Linked DNA regions of Homo sapiens: region 2 is linked to region 1. The links are contacts of gene promoters, found by promoter capture Hi-C in human tissues and cell types (Jung and others, 2019). All regions are on one chromosome and are shown on one strand. Each heading gives the region's core, a stretch centred on a gene start or on the middle of the fragment in contact. The rest is flanking DNA. Distances are from core to core; before and after follow the strand shown.

Region 1 (7,709 bases), core at 883-3,382:
CCTGAGTGCTCTCAACACTCACACCTGTGCCAGTTGCTTGTGGAGAATTTTAGCTGTGAACCAGGGTGGCCCAAGCTGTTCTCAGGTGACTTGTGAGAAAGGGATTGAGCCTGTAATTTTGGGTAGAAGAACCCCAGAAAGGGCTGGATGGGCCCTTGGAAGGTCGTTGCCAGGCCTGGGTTTTCAGGGTTCTGCACCCCTGGGCTGAGGCTGAGGCACCCGTCCTGTTGGGCACTGGGTCGAGCCATTGGCCCCCCCACAGCGGGCATCAGATGCTCACAGGGGCTCCTGGCTGCCTCCTGCAAAGTCGGGTGGTGCTGGAGCAGGTCTGACCTGCTTCCCAGGGCCTGCTTGCCTCTGGGATTAGAGGAACCTGCACAAGACCCCAGGGGCTGTGCTGAGGTGGACAGCTGCCTGAAAGATGAGCGTGTGAACAGAACATGCTGGTCTTAAGGCAGAGAGTCCCACACCGTGGACCCTCCCGTCTGATGCTGGGGTCTTCGTTTCCAGCGTGGAGCCATCCTCATCCCGTGCAGGGTGGACCGCCTGCCTGGGGAGCCACCTGCAGTCTGGGTCCCCTTGCGGTGCCACTGCGATCTCTCTAGAGCCTCCTCTTCCTCCTGCCACTGGGGACATCTCTGCCCCTCTGCTTCCCTCGGAAGCTGGTTGTGAAGCCGGGCCAGTGGCTGCGGGGACAGCTCATGGCCCTGGAAAGACCCCACTGGCATGCGGCACAACATCTGCTCTGAGAACTGCAGGAAAAGGCCGGGCAGGGCACCCCTGCCATCCTGCCAGTGAAGTTTACGGGTCTCGGAATGAGTGTGGCCAAGGGGCAAAGGGGAGGAGGGAGAGGGGGAGGTGGGGTTGCCTGAGAGTGCCCGCCCCAGGACAGCAGCCCGTAGCTCAGCCCCAAGAGCCCGGCACCGAGCTTCGAGCTGCGTGGCCCCGAAGAGGGGCTCAGTCACCTAATGTGATGAGGGGACGGCAGAGCAAAGGCTTGTCTGACAGTGACCGTCGTGTGTAGTGGAGAGGACGTGGCCAGAGATCTGGTTTCAGGGCAGGGATGAGGGGGGATTCCAGTCAGATCTTTTGCATCCCAGCAACCCTCCCCTTGACACCTTTGGGGCAGTGGCAGGGGATGACCATGGATGACCTCATGAGAACACTGTGGGTGTCAGGGACTCAGGGAGGCCCCGCAGGGCTTGAACATGCTTATGTTTCTCATTTGTAAAGGGAGGGCAGTCATCCGGTGGCTTCTTGTGGCCTCGGTGATGAAGGCCACATCAGAGCCAGGGGGAAAGGATATGAGAGAAAAAGATTCATTTGAATTATTGTCTTTTTCCTGGAGTGGAGAGATGTGGTACTCCCCAAAACTTCCTTTCTAGGCTGGGCACAGTGGCTCACGCCTGTAAAACCAGCACTTTGGGAAGCGGAGGCTGGTGGATCGCCTGAGGTCAGGAGTTTGAGACCAACCTGACCAACATGGTGAAACCCTGTTGCTACTACATACAAAAAAAATTAGCAGGGTGTGGTGATTGGCGCCCATAATCCCAGCTACTGGGGAGGCTAAGGCAGGAGAATCACTTGAACCAGGGAGACCGAGGTTGCAGTGAGCCGAGACTGCGTCACTGAACTCCAGCCTGAGCGACAAAGTGGGACTCCGTCTCAAAAAACAAGAAGAAAAAGAAACTTCCTTTGTGGACAGTGAGGGCTATTTAAAAAAATTTTGGAATATGAAAGTAGTCACTGGTGTCTGGAAGCAGGAGCTGTGCAGAATTGTACAGTTGCGAAACCATGTCGCTGGCAGCTGGTGCTGGCGGTGGAGACTTCCCTGTGCGGTGCTCAGTGCAGCTGCACCCGTGGGGGAGGGAGCTCTTTCTCTGGCCCTGCAGTCACCTGAGGTTGTTACCATTATGAACGGCCGCTGGGACCCCCGCATGTGCATGTACTCCCCCAGAGTGTCCGGGGGCCCCAGCCAAGGGACACAGCTCAGGCAGCTGGGAACATGTGCAGGCTGATGAAGAGAACCGGATGAGGGCTTCACATGAGGAAGCATGTGGCCAGGTCCTCTCAGAACATCAGCCTCATCTTCCTGTCTCTGATCTATTTCAGCAACCACCCCATGTGTCTCTAGAACCCCAGTGTAGCGAGCTGGAGAGAGGACTGTCCTGAGGGCAGCAGGCCTGGTTGCAGCTGGCGTGGGGGTCTCAGAATGGAGCCCTCAGCCCTGAGGAAAGCTGGCTCGGAGCAGGAGGAGGGCTTTGAGGGGCTGCCCAGAAGGGTCACTGACCTGGGGATGGTCTCCAATCTCCGGCGCAGCAACAGCAGCCTCTTCAAGAGCTGGAGGCTACAGTGCCCCTTCGGCAACAATGACAAGGTAGGCTTTCTGCTGGTCAGCCTGCAGTTGGCACGTGGCCACGGAGGTCACCGTTGGGCAGGTCATAGCTTGAGGCTGTGACGACGGGGGTGGGAAAGGGTCTGCTGACCTTGGGGGCTCCTGCCCAACCATACCTTTGGGAGAACAGAACTGGGGAGGGTGATGCGTGTCTCGTCTTCTGTGGGTTGCATGACCATTTCCCATGGTTGGTCTGATTGGGAAATCACCGGGTTAACTCAAAAATGTTGCGCTAGAGTCCTGGAAATCTGTTACCCGTGCTTACCTTGTTGCATAATGATTTCACATCCTTTATCCGATTGGGAGGGCCTGGGCCTGGGCTAGCTTTCCCCAAAGCCCTGGATACAAAGACACAAGTATGTTGAAAGCACATGGCATCTTGCAGTCCCCTTGCCAGGCAGGCAGGAGGGTGGCTGCCCTTTTTCCGATGGTGCAAGATCCAGGTCCCCAGATCCCCAGCCTCCACGTTTTCCACCACACCATGTTGTTCCCAAGGAAGGTGGTGGTGCTGTAGAAACTGTAAAGTGCGCGCACATTCAAAATGGTCCCAAGAGGAAATGATTTCTTAGATTCATTCCTCCCTCCTGAATCCCCACCGGAGAGTCTTGGCAAGGTGCTTCTAATCTTTGGCTCAGGGTCGCGCAGGCTTCCTTCCTTCAAGCAAATAGTGTGAAAGCTCCTCAAGGAGCTCAGATGTGTCTCCAGGGGGCTGGGTGTGCTCTTTCGAATGTTGGAAGATCTCAGTGTGCTGTCTTTACCTTCAGCAAGAAAGCCTCAGTTCGTGGATTCCTGAAAACATCAAGAAGAAAGAATGCGTGTATTTTGTGGAAAGTTCCAAACTGTCTGATGCTGGGTAAGTGACGTGATTTGTGTGTAAGACCTCTGACTTCTTCCTTCCGATCCCACATGGAGTAGCTGATCAGGCCAAGACCCCTCAGGGCCTCAGTGAAGGGTCACTGGAGATACCTCTGTCTCCATACGAGGCTTAGAGTCCACAGAGCATTTCCACCTAACCCTTGCAAGCCTCCTGTCGGGGACAGTTGACCCTCATCCTGCCTCGCAGGTGCAGGGACCAAAGTGCAGAGTTTAGGTGACTTGTTCAGGGTCATAAGGGCACTGTCGCGCGGCGAGGCCCAGTGGTGTGAACACAGATGCATCCTCTAATCCTCTCATTTCCACACCTGCCCCCACCCCAAGAGAGAGAGTCCCAGGGTCCAGGAACTGGAAGGGCCTTAGGGAGAGTCCATGGCCAGAAGACTGCCCCCCTGCACAGCTTGCCAAAGCCAGAGGCCCGACTTGCCCCCAGGCCCCACAGAGCCCCCTTTGCCCCTCCTCCCCACAGAGCCCACGACTCAGGTGTGGCCAAGACCCCCGCCCAGGCAACATGGCCACTGTCTCTGAGTGGCTGGATATGGCCCTCCGGAGCCGATGGTGCTCCCCGCAGTTGGCGCCCCTTTAGGCACGGACAGAGTGTTGATTCATGTTTGTGTGCCCTCCCCGAGCAACACCCATTTCATGCTCTTCCACAAATGGGCCACACGCTTCCTCCTTTTACTCCATTGCCTGGTGAGCTCCTACTTATCCCTCAAGGCCTATTGCAGATGCTGCCTCTGCCGTGCAGCCTTCCGTGACTATACAACCTCTACCAGGAAGTGAGCTTCCCTCCTACCGCACCGTGTGTTTCTCTTTGATCCCAGCTGTCGTGCTGTAACTGTGTGGCTTTGTGTTCATCTTTCTTGCTAGCTGCTGAGCTTCTGGGGGGCTGGGACGAAAGCAGAGTGTTGTGTTAATTCCCAGAGAGTGGCCTTCAGCTCATATTTACTGAATATGGGGAGGGAGAAGCATCCTGTGCTTGGGAAATAGAAGAAGACTGTGTTGCCCCAGGGTACCTCTAGTGTACTCGGTACATCATCAGAGTTTCACGGTCACCAATACAACAGCTGTCCCTCCGCATCCCTGGGGAATTGTTCCCGGACACCCACGGACACCAAAATCCCATATCTCGTATCAGTCCCAAAATCTCATATCAAGTCACTGATATGAGATGGTGTGGTATTTGCATATAAACTATGTACATCCTTCAGCATACTTTAAATCATCTCTAGATTACTTATAATACCTGATACAATGTAGATGTTATAAAAATAGTTATACTGCATTTAAAAAATTTGTATTTTTGGGCCGGGCGCGGTGGCTCACGCCTGTAATCCCAGCACTTTGGGAGGCCGAGGCAGGTGATCCACCCGCCTCGGCCTCCCAAAGTGCTGGGATTACAGGCGTGAGCCACTGCATCTGGCTATGTTATTTTTAATTGTTTTTTTTTTCCTGAATATTTTTAGTCTGCGTTTGGCTGAATCTGCAGATGCAAAACTCGCGGCCATGGAGGGCTGGATGTAGAGACAGTGATGAAGAGCCCCATGTGGAAGGAGCGGGGTCTGTAGAGCAGTGGTACTCCAGCCTCGGAGCTCACCCTTGTTACTGGAAAGGGGTCCCGATCCAGACCCCAAGGGCGGGTTCTTGGATCTCACACGAGAAAGTATTTGGAGCGAGTCCACAGAGTAAAGTGAAAGCAAGTTATTAACAATGTAAAGGAATAAAAGAATGGCTTCTCCATAGGCAGAGCAGCCCTGAGGGCTGCTGCTTGGCTATTTTTTTTTTTTTTTTTTGAGACGGGGTCTCGCTCTGTCGCCCAGGCTGGAGTGCAATGGCATGATCTTGGCTCGCTGCAACCTTCGTCTCCCAGGTTCATGCGATTCACCATGTTGGCCAGGCTGGTCTGGAACTCCTGACCTCAGGTGATCCACCAGCCTTGGCCTCCCAAAGTGCTGGGATTTCAGGCATAAGCCACCGTGCTTGGCTGGTTGGCTATTTTTATGGTAGTTTTGGATCATGTGCTTAACAAGGGTGGATTATTCATGAGTTTTATGGGAAAGGAGCGGGGATTTCCCAGAACTGATTTCCTCTTTCTTTCAGACCATACAGGGTATTTCTGATGTTGCCATGGCATCTGCCAACTGTCATGGTGCTGGTGGGAGTGTCTCTTACATGTTAATATGTTATAATTAGCGTGTAATGGGCAGCGAGGATAACCAGAGCCCACTTTCGTCGCCATCTTGGTTTTGGTGGGTTTTACCCAGTGTCTTGCACCCTGTTTTATCAGCAGGGTCTTTGTGACCTGTGTCTTCTGCTGACCTCTTGTCTCATCCTGTGACTTAGAATGCCTTAACCGTCTGGGAAGGCAGCCCAGCAGGTTTCAGCCTCATTTCACCCAGCGCCTATTCAAGATGGGACTCACTCTGGTTTGAACGCCGCTGACACCCTGACCTGCTGTGTCCTGAGAAGCCTAGGTGAGGCCCCGTGGGTCTGGGGCCTCTGCCAGTCGGCTCTGCGTGCTTCTCACATGGAAGTGGAAACCCTTGGGGCAGCAGGGCCCAGAGAGGAAGGGGTGCTGACCTGGATCAGATGTAAGCAGGACAGACTTGCTTCTGGAGGTCCCCAAAGCCATCCCCCATGCTCAGGGGTTTGCTAGGACTCACAGCTGTGCACACAGCTAAGGTTTATCATGGTGAAGGCCTACGTGATGGGCTTGGCAAGGGAGAAAGACACAGGCCGAGTCTGGAGAATCTGAGGGCAGGCTGCTGCGGCTCTCCTGTGCAGGCGCCATGCATGCTCCTTCCTCTAGCCGAGAAGCACGTGGCCACCTGCAAAGCCCATTCGAGGCTCAGAGCCCAGGGCGTGCATCCTGCGCTGGCCACGTGGGCCCCTCTGCATGGCAACCACCCAAATCCCAGACTCCCAGCAGGAAAGCAGCTGTTCAGCACAAACCCATTGCAGGAACAGTCCAGGCCCGGCAAAGCACTCCTAGCAGTCAGGGGACGGAGAGACGCTCCAAAAGCCCCGTTCCCAGACACCACCTTGAAAGCAGGCCCCTCTGAGAAGGCAACCTGAGATCTGCTGCACCGAGTCTGTCCCGCACAGAAGCCGCTCTCATCTCACCAACCACGGTGGTCACTGCAGCAGGATGGGAAGAGGGACCAGGTGTGTTCCTGGCTGTTCCTTCCTGAGGAGTGGATGGAATGTCCCTCCTTCTTGTGGAAAGACCAGGGCGGAACGAGTGGTGAGCATCGTCTGCCACAAACACAGCTTTTCAAGCAGATTTATTTATACCACTTACATGTTTCCATTAAGCATGGTAGGGTCTTCCTACCCCACTCGTCCAGACCTGGAGCCCCTCGACACCCGCCCGGGTAATCCCACTGCTTAGCCCCACGTCCTGGTAACCCTCCTCAGCTCTGCACAGACTCGTCTCATTTCCGTGTCTGCTGTGGCCACCCTGGTCCAGACCTTTGTGCTCACATTTTGCCACCATGGATCTCATGACCTTGGGCAGATGACTTCTCTTCCCTGGGCCACCAATCCTCATCTGTGAGCGCAGAGACTGGAGGGGATGCCTCAGAATTCACGCGCACATGCGGTGGGGGTGGGGAGGCAGGGAGCCCCCCTTGGGTGGCAGGAAGGAGCCCAGGTTGGAGAGAATACACCTCCAAGAGCTCTCATTTCCCGTGGGGTGCCGGGGGTGGTGTCCCGTTTACGCCTATCTGGGCCGAGTTCCGAGCGAGCTCTCCGGCGATGTAATTTCTGGATCAGTGTCCGCAATGCAGTTTCCAGCATCACATCAGGCTTGCAAACGCCATGCAGGTTCAAGTTCCAATCTCATCAGAGGTGATCGTTCAAGGACAAGAGGGACAGGAGGTAGCTTGTGATAGGCTGTTAGGAACATACAAGGACATTTGGGGCAGCATTGGAGCAAGACGGGAGAGCTCAGGTCCTTGTCTAGGGAACTCCTTTCCCCACCTCCGACCCAGGTCTCTCATCCATAAACAGTGGAGGTCACATTGTGTCCGGAGTTGGTTCCTTCCCGGGGGTCTTGGTCTCGCTGACTTCAAGAGTGAAGCCGGGGACCTTCGCGGTGAGTGTCACAGCTCTTGAAGATGGCAGGGACCCAAAGAGTGAGCAGCAGCAAGATATATTGTGAAGAGCGAAAGAACAAAGACTCCTCAGCGTGAAAGGGGACCCGAGCAGTTTGCCGCTGCTGGCTGGAGGGGTGGCCAGCTTTTATTCCCTTATTTGTCCCCGCCCGTGTCCTGCTGATTGGTCCATTTTACAGAGCGCTGATTGGTCCATTTTACAGAGCACTGCTTGGTCCATTTTACAGTGTGCTGATTGGTCCATTTTACAGAGCACTGCTTGGTCCATTTTACAGTGTGCTGATTGGTCCATTTTACAGAGCATGGCTTGGTCCATTTTACAGTGT
Region 2 (7,709 bases), core at 2,577-5,076, 100 kb after region 1:
GTATCAAAGGTACGTGATGCCAATCTACCTTGCCACTGATGGCCCGAGCTTTGTCACATAGATAAGGTGGTTTCTGCACTGAAAAGCTGTTATTACTTTTTTAGGTTAATAAATATGTCAAAGCAGATACTTTGATCCTATGGAAATCTCCAATGAAGCTAATTTAAGTATAAGACACACTAGGTAAAAAGTAACAAGGTAAAAGAAGATATCCCATGCTAAACTAATCAAAGGAAAGCAGGAGTCAATTTCAAGTCAGAGTCTAGGGATAAAGAGGGTCATTTCATGATGACACAGGGGTCAACCAGTCAGGAGCATGCACGATGTGAGCACAGAGTCTCAAAACACATGAAGCAAAAGCTGATAGAGCTGCAAGGAAAAATTACAGACAAATCTGCAATTACAGTCAGAGGTTTCAACACCGCTATCAAGAATTTGTTTGTTTGAGACAGGGTCTTGCTCTGCCACCCAGGCTCAAATGCAATGGCACAATCACGGCTCACTGCAGCCTTGACTTCCTGGGCTCAAGAAATCCTCCTGCCTCAGCCTCCCAAGTAGCTAGGATTGCAGGCATGCGCTGCCATGGATGGGTGAGTTTTTGATTTTTTGTAGAGATGGTGTCTCACTTTGTTGCCCAGGCTGGTCTCTCAATAATTAGCAGAGCAAGTAGACAGAAAGTGGATGATAATATGGGCTACTCAAATAACACAGTCATTGCCGTTTATAGGACACCTCGTGGAGCAACAGTACACAAATTCAAGTGCGCATGCAACAACCGCCAACCATAATCGGGGCCATGAAAGAGTCTCAATAAATTTAAAAGGATCCGAAACATAGAATATGTCCTCTGACAACAATGGCTTTAAAGTAATGATCAACAGCAGAAAGAGCTCTGGAAAATGCACAGATATGTGGAAGTGAAATAGCATAGCTCTAAACTCATGGGTCAAAAAGGAAATCAAAGGGAAAATTATAAATTATTTTCAACTTAATGAAAACAAAAATACAACATATCAAAATTTCTGGGATGCAGTTAAAGGTGGACTTAGAGGGAAATTTATAGTACTGAATGCTTGTACAGATCAGTGACCCCAGCTTCCACCTTAAGAGACCTAAAAAAGAAGAGAAAGTCAAACCCAATGTAAGCAAAAGAGGCTGGGTGCAGTGGTTCATGCCTGTAATCCCAGCACTTTGGGAGGCCGAGGTGGGTGGATAACCTGAGGTCAGGAGTTCGAGACAAGCCTGGTCAACATGGTGAAACCCCATCTCTACTAAAAATATACAAAAATTAGCTGGGCATGGTGGCACATGCCTGTAATCCCAGCTACTCAGGAGGCTGAGGCAGGAGAATCACTTGAACCCGGAAGATGGAGTTTGCAGTGAGCCGAGATTGCCCCCACTGAACTCCAGCTTGGGCAACAAGGCAAGACTCTGTCTCAAAAACAAAAACAAAAACAAAAACAAACAAACAAAAAAACAAGCAAAAGAAAGAATAAAGAGTGGAAGTCAATGAAAAAAAAGTGCATCAACGAAACCAAAAAGCTATTTCTTTGAGAAGATCAATACAATTGATAAACTGCTATCTGATTGTTCAGTTAAAAAAAAAGCCACAATTGCCAGTATCAGAAATGAGAAAGATGACATCACCTCATACTTCACAGATGTTGAAAGGATAAAGGAATATTATGAACAACTTTATGCTAATAAATTCAACAACTTATATGCGATGGGCAATTTCTTGAGCGATACAAACTACATACATTCAGTCAAGAATAAAATAAACTCAGCAGTTGTATATCCATTAAATAATTCAACCACATATAAAAATGATAATACATCATGACCACGTGGGCTTTATCCCAAGAACACAAGATTGATTTAACACTTTAAAATCAATCATTATACTCTATCATATTAATAGATCATCACGCAAAAAGATTCTCAATAGATGCAGAAAAAACAAAATCCAACTTTCATTCCTGATTAAAAAGACTCTCAGCAAACAAGAGAAAGGATAGTCTTTTCAACAGTCTGGAAAAAACTGATTATCCACATACACAAAAAATAAACATTGAATCATATCTCATACTATAAACCCAAATAAACTTAAAATAGGTAATAGACCCAAATGCAAACCTTTAAAACTCTAAAACCCTTGTGACTTTGGGTGAGGCAAAGATTTCTTATATATGACACCAAAAGCAGGATCCATAAAAGAAAAACATAAATTGGATTTCCTCAAAATTAAAAAATTCTGCTCTTTGAAAAACTGTTAAGAGAATGAACACACAATCCAAAGGCTTGGAGAAAGCATTTACAGATCACATATCTGATAAAGGACTTGTATCCAGAATATGCAACAAACTCCCAAACTCAATAATAAGAAAATAAACAACCCAATTAAAAGTGAGTAAAAGATTTGAACTCAACGCTTACTACAGGAGATGGAGAATAAACAGATGAAATGATGCTCAACATCATTGGCCAACAGGGAAACGCAAATTAAAACCACAGTTCCATCTATCACCACACACCTATTAGAGTATTTGAAATTAAAAAGACAAACCATACCAAGTGCTGGGGAGGATGTGGAATGTAAAACCATACAATCGCTTTGGCAGTTTCTTAAAAAGTTTCACATATGGCTACCGTGGCATCCAGCCACTCCACTCCTAGACATCTATTCAAGAGAAAGAAAAGCATTCATCCAAAGACTTGTGCACAATGTTCGGATCAGCTTTATCTGTAAGAGCCAACACCAGAAACAACCCAAATGCCCACCAGCAGGTGAATGGACACAAACTGTGGTACATTCATACACTGGAGTACCATGCAGCTGTAAAAGAAATACGCATTGACAAACCAAATGACGCAGGCAAATCTCAAAAATAATTGTGCTGAGTGAAAGAAGCTACACAAAAAGTACATATTATATGATTCCATTTGTGCAAATCATAGGAAATGCAAAGTAATCAGTAGTGACAGAATGCAGATCAGTGCTTGCCTGGGGATGAGGGAGGGCAGGGAGAGATGACCAAGAGGGAACCCGGGGTGTTCACTATGCTGATTGTGGTGATGGTTTCACAGGAGTATCCGAGTGTTAAAACGTACCAAATTGAAATATGTGGCTTACCGTCTGTCAATTACACCACAATAAGGCTACTTTTTGAAAACCATGAGGATGGCTCAGGTCCGGCTCAAATGCCCCCACCCTGCGTTCCTTCCTTGGGATGTCAGACGCTGGAGCTGGAGCAGAAGGGGACCTAGATGGGCGGAGATCTAGCCCTACTCACCCACTGGCCACGGGGTAGGCGAGGGACGCTCAGCAGGGGCTTCCCGCAGACCCAGGGTCTTCAAGCCCCAGAAGTCCTGATGCCAGAGGGAAGAGGGGATTTGCCCAGAGTGAGGGGCAGGGGCTGGACCCACAGCCCCTCCCGGCGCGCAGACCCCGCCCCCACCCATAACCACGCCCTCAGCCCCCACCACCTCGTCCTCAGCCCCACAACCACGCCCCCAGCATGCCACAATTACTCCCACAACCCGCCCACAGCCCCTGCGACCTGGGTCTTAGTACCAGCTCCATCTAAAGCCGCACCACCGGCCCCTCCCATGCCCCTCCCATGCCCCTCCCCCATCTCTTCCAGGCCCCGCCCTGCCGCAGAACCCGCCCTCAAGCCCCGCCCCCGCCTAACCACAAATCCCGTTCCGGTCTCCTTACATGCCCCGCCCCTTCCCCGCCCCCGCGGGGAATCGACACAGCCTGTCTCCGCCTTTCGCCCCGCCCCCTCCAGGCCCCGCCCCACCCCGCCCCTCGCCCGCGCAGGCCGGAGTCGCGGCCTCCCCAGCTAGTGGTCGCGGGCGCGGTCGCAGGGGCAGCGGGGTGGCCGCCGCGCCAGGCGTGGAGCTGGGTCTGGCGGGCTCCGAGAGGCCCGGGAGCGGCGCGCAGAGCAGCCTCCGGCCGCCGCCGCGCAGGTAAAGCCCCCGCCCAGCCCTGGGAGCGTGGATTCCCACCCACCCCATGACCATCCCCCCGCCGCGAGTGCTGGGGTCTCGGGGGTCCCAGGTTCCGGGGGTCCTAGGGCCGGAGGGTCTAAAGGCTGGAGGTCCTGGGGGTCCGAGCCTCTCCCGGCCGGCTCCGCGCGCGGCCCCGCCGTCCACGCCCAGCGCGGGCCGCGCGCACAGGGCTTGGCTTCTCTGTTTTCTCGGTTTCCTTCTTCAGGCAGTTGAAAGAAAAGGCGCGGTTCTGTGCCCGGTGCGAGCCGCGGCTCCTTTAGGGCTGGCAGGGAAGGGCTTGCTGGGTTATGACAGTTTTTAGGGGTTGTCGGAGTCAGCCAGGCGTTGGCTGCTGGAGTAGCCCCTGGCGCGCGAGCGCCCGCTGGTGCCCGGCCACGTGCCCAGCTTGACCCGCGCTCCAGGTTCGGGAGAAGCTGCAGCCGTCACCGTCCTCCTGGCGTCCACCCTGAGGAGGGAGGGGCTGGGTGGTCCAAGCCGCCGCCACTCCGCCGCCCGGCCTTTGGTCCCCAGCGGTGCTGTAGGTGGCCAGGGGTGGCCGCAGTGACCACCCACTGGGCCATGCGGAGCCCCCTGGCAGTGCCAGCTCCCTGCACTTGTGGGACGCTCCTCCCGGGCGCATTGGGAGTCTCCAGAAGTAAGTTACAGGCAGAGCTGTTTAAGGAGGCGTGCTCCCCACCCCAGACCCTTCAGTGGGCCCTCAACACCCTCCCCACCAGTGGACGCGTTTCCCAGGTGACCGCAGCCGGCAGTGCTGACCACCCTCCCTCCCTCTCCGCTCCCTCCTGCGTCTTCCCTTTCAGAGCTGCCAGAGTGGACTGCACTGCTTCTCCCAGCGGGGCAGGATGGCGGTTTCATGTCTGGTTGGATAAGGCCTTGCCTGCGGAAACCAGCTCCATCCCCAGGCCCTAGCAGAGGCTCGCGTGTCCCCGTCCCCAGGTCAGGTCAGGATGGGCACCGTGCGCCCACCTCGCCCCTCGCTCCTGCTGGTCTCCACCCGGGAGTCTTGTCTCTTCCTCCTCTTCTGCCTGCACCTGGGCGCCGCCTGCCCACAGCCCTGCCGGTGCCCTGACCACGCAGGGGCTGTGGCTGTCTTCTGCAGCTTGCGGGGCCTTCAGGAGGTCCCCGAGGACATCCCGGCCAACACCGTGCTCCTGAAGCTCGATGCCAACAAGATCTCCCACCTCCCGGACGGGGCCTTCCAGCACCTGCACCGGCTCAGGGAGCTGGATCTGTCTCACAACGCCATCGAGGCCATCGGCTCCGCCACCTTCGCGGGCCTGGCCGGGGGCCTGCGGCTGCTGGACCTGTCTTACAACCGCATCCAGAGGATCCCCAAGGACGCCCTGGGCAAACTCAGCGCCAAGATACGCCTGTCCCACAACCCCCTGCACTGCGAGTGCGCCCTGCAGGAGGCCCTGTGGGAGCTGAAGCTGGACCCCGACTCTGTGGACGAGATCGCCTGCCACACCTCAGTGCAGGAGGAGTTTGTGGGGAAGCCTCTGGTTCAGGCTCTGGATGCGGGTGCCAGCCTCTGCAGCGTCCCCCACAGGACCACAGACGTGGCCATGCTGGTCACCATGTTCGGCTGGTTCGCCATGGTGATCGCCTACGTCGTGTACTATGTGCGCCACAACCAGGAGGATGCCCGGAGGCACCTGGAGTACCTGAAGTCTCTGCCCAGCGCCCCCGCCTCCAAGGACCCCATCGGCCCGGGGCCCTAGCGCCTGTTCCGGCAGACCCCCGCCGGTGGCTGCTGTCACTTTTGTAGTAGGTGGTGACTGATGCTGCTTTTGCTCTTCCCTGAGGCAGGTGTCACAGCCATGTGTGCTCCCCACTGTTGCACTCAGGCACAGCAGCACCTCCAGGCTGGGTGGTTTTGCCACACATCCGTGTGACGGATGAGGAACCTGAAGCTTAGAGGAACGGAATGACTGCCCGTGACGATACCATCAGGAAATTATCCCAGTGGAACTTCAACCCGGGCTGTCCATCGTGACATTCCGCCTCCTTCCACCATGCCAGCCTCTCCCACACGGGGCCCTGCAGGCTGTGGATATGCACTCAGAGGACTAAGGGGGTGCTCTGCAAGCGAGAGGGTTCACCAGAGGGAGCTTGGGTGCAGGTTCACCCGCTGAAGGCGCTGATAAGTCCTGTGCTGAGGAGCTGACTTGCCCTTGTTTACTTACAAAGTGCATTGTAGGTAAACATGAGCCTTGTTCCAGTGTTCGAAGTACATTGGAACGTAAGCCCTGTTTCCAGAGCAAAGTAACAGAGACCAGGTTTTTCTAGAGAGCTAAGTGGGATGTGTAGCTCAAACAAACTGTCCTACCCTTTTTTATTCTCAAATGTTTGTTTTGAGTAACCGTAGTGCCAAAATTTCAGTTCAGTAATGGGGTGAACAATATGGAGAGAGACCTGGGAAAAGTCCAGGGTAGCTTGCCCAGGGGAAGACAGCAGCCACATACCTGGGGGCCCGCCTGCTTCCTGCCCCTCTGGGTGTGCCTGATGCGGGAGGCCCTGCCCCAGGGCGATCTCAGCTCACTGCAACCTTTGCCTCCCAGGCTCAATCACTTCTGCTGCCTCAGCCTCCCTAGTAGCTGGAATTACAGGCATGAGCCACCACGCCTGGCTAATTTTTGTATTTTTAGTAGAGACCGGGTTTCACCATGTTGGCCAGGCTGGTCTCGAACTGTTGGCCTCAAGTGATCCGCCCGCCTCAGCCTCCCAAAGTGCTGGGATTACAGGCGTCAGCCACCGCGCCCGGCCCTGTGCCTTGCTTTTTCTACTCACTAAGATATAAAACAGCTCTTTTTCCAAGGCCCGGAGTACTGGGGATTGATGTTTCAAGGCCAATCAATGGGATGCTTCGTTTTCTCCAGCAACAGGAACTCTCTCTTTTCACCTTTGCTGCCAGGAATCTCAGAGATAATTTAGTGCTCAATTTACTAACCTTACTTCACATTCAGGTTAGATGTTACCTCCACCTATATGATAGTAATTCCTAATTTTATTTTTTATTGTCCTTTTTATGAGTGTTTATATTTTAAAGTACTTTGAGTATTTTTGGGGGGGGTGTAAATGAGTGATCAGTGTACATTGTGTGTGGACTGAAGTGTAGGTATGTAGAGATGCTTCGCCAAACAGATGCTTAAAAATGAATGGAAGTTGAGGGTGGTTTCTCTTTGGAAAGTATCAGGTGACTTGGAAGGTGAGAGCCTGTCCAGGGTGTGTGCACTGGTTCTGAGGTACCCCGTGTGTGCAGTGTGAGTCACGGGGGTGTCTGTGTTGTGAGGTGCTTGGTAGGCTTTGCTCTGCCCACAGTGCAGACGCGGGGTGGGTGAGGGGCCAGGCCCAGTGTATGAGTGGAGGCAGCCCCAGGCTCCGCCTGCTTCCCTCACGCCACGCTGCCTGAGTGTCGCCATGCTCGGAGGACAGAGACCTCCACGGAAACTGGCAGCGCCACTCACCCTTCCAGTGAGAGCTAGAACCAAGTGCCAGCCCCCGGGGGTGCACCCGTGCTGGTGTGGGGCCACGTGGTCCTTGTGGTCCAGGCAGGGCCAGCATGTGGCGGGGTGTCCAGCTCCACTGTTTGGAGGAAGTGGGCGCTGACACAGCAGAGTGCCCTGGGCCCGTGGGGATTTCCTTCCAGAGGACACGTGGCTGAAAGCATAGGATAAGGATGTATAGGTGAATGA

What was found. Contacts are between HindIII fragments. The study calls those that stand out against the background at their distance.
Region 2: the fragment with the promoter of LRRC3 here is called in contact with the fragment with the promoter of TRPM2 in region 1 in 1 of the 25 tissues and cell types used here (mesendoderm cells).

Annotation. Positions count from the first base shown.
Region 1 is chr21:44,351,489-44,359,197 of GRCh38, forward strand. TRPM2 (transient receptor potential cation channel subfamily M member 2) reads left to right here and starts at 2,133. Exons shown (of 32, transcript NM_003307.4): 1 at 2,133-2,377; 2 at 3,160-3,248. The coding sequence starts at 2,213. RefSeq lists enhancers at 2,349-2,398, 2,559-2,608. The HindIII fragment of the contact is 21,861 bases long and covers 1-7,709 here.
Region 2 is chr21:44,451,684-44,459,392 of GRCh38, forward strand. LRRC3 (leucine rich repeat containing 3) reads left to right here and starts at 3,827. Exons shown (of 2, transcript NM_030891.6): 1 at 3,827-3,972; 2 at 4,815-7,709. The coding sequence starts at 4,962. The coding sequence ends at 5,735. LRRC3-DT (LRRC3 divergent transcript) reads right to left here and starts at 3,601. Exons shown (of 4, transcript NR_047476.1): 1 at 3,561-3,601; 2 at 3,294-3,369; 3 at 1-86. RefSeq lists an enhancer at 2,824-3,324 and silencers at 3,488-3,667, 3,756-4,185. The HindIII fragment of the contact is 13,764 bases long and covers 1,858-7,709 here.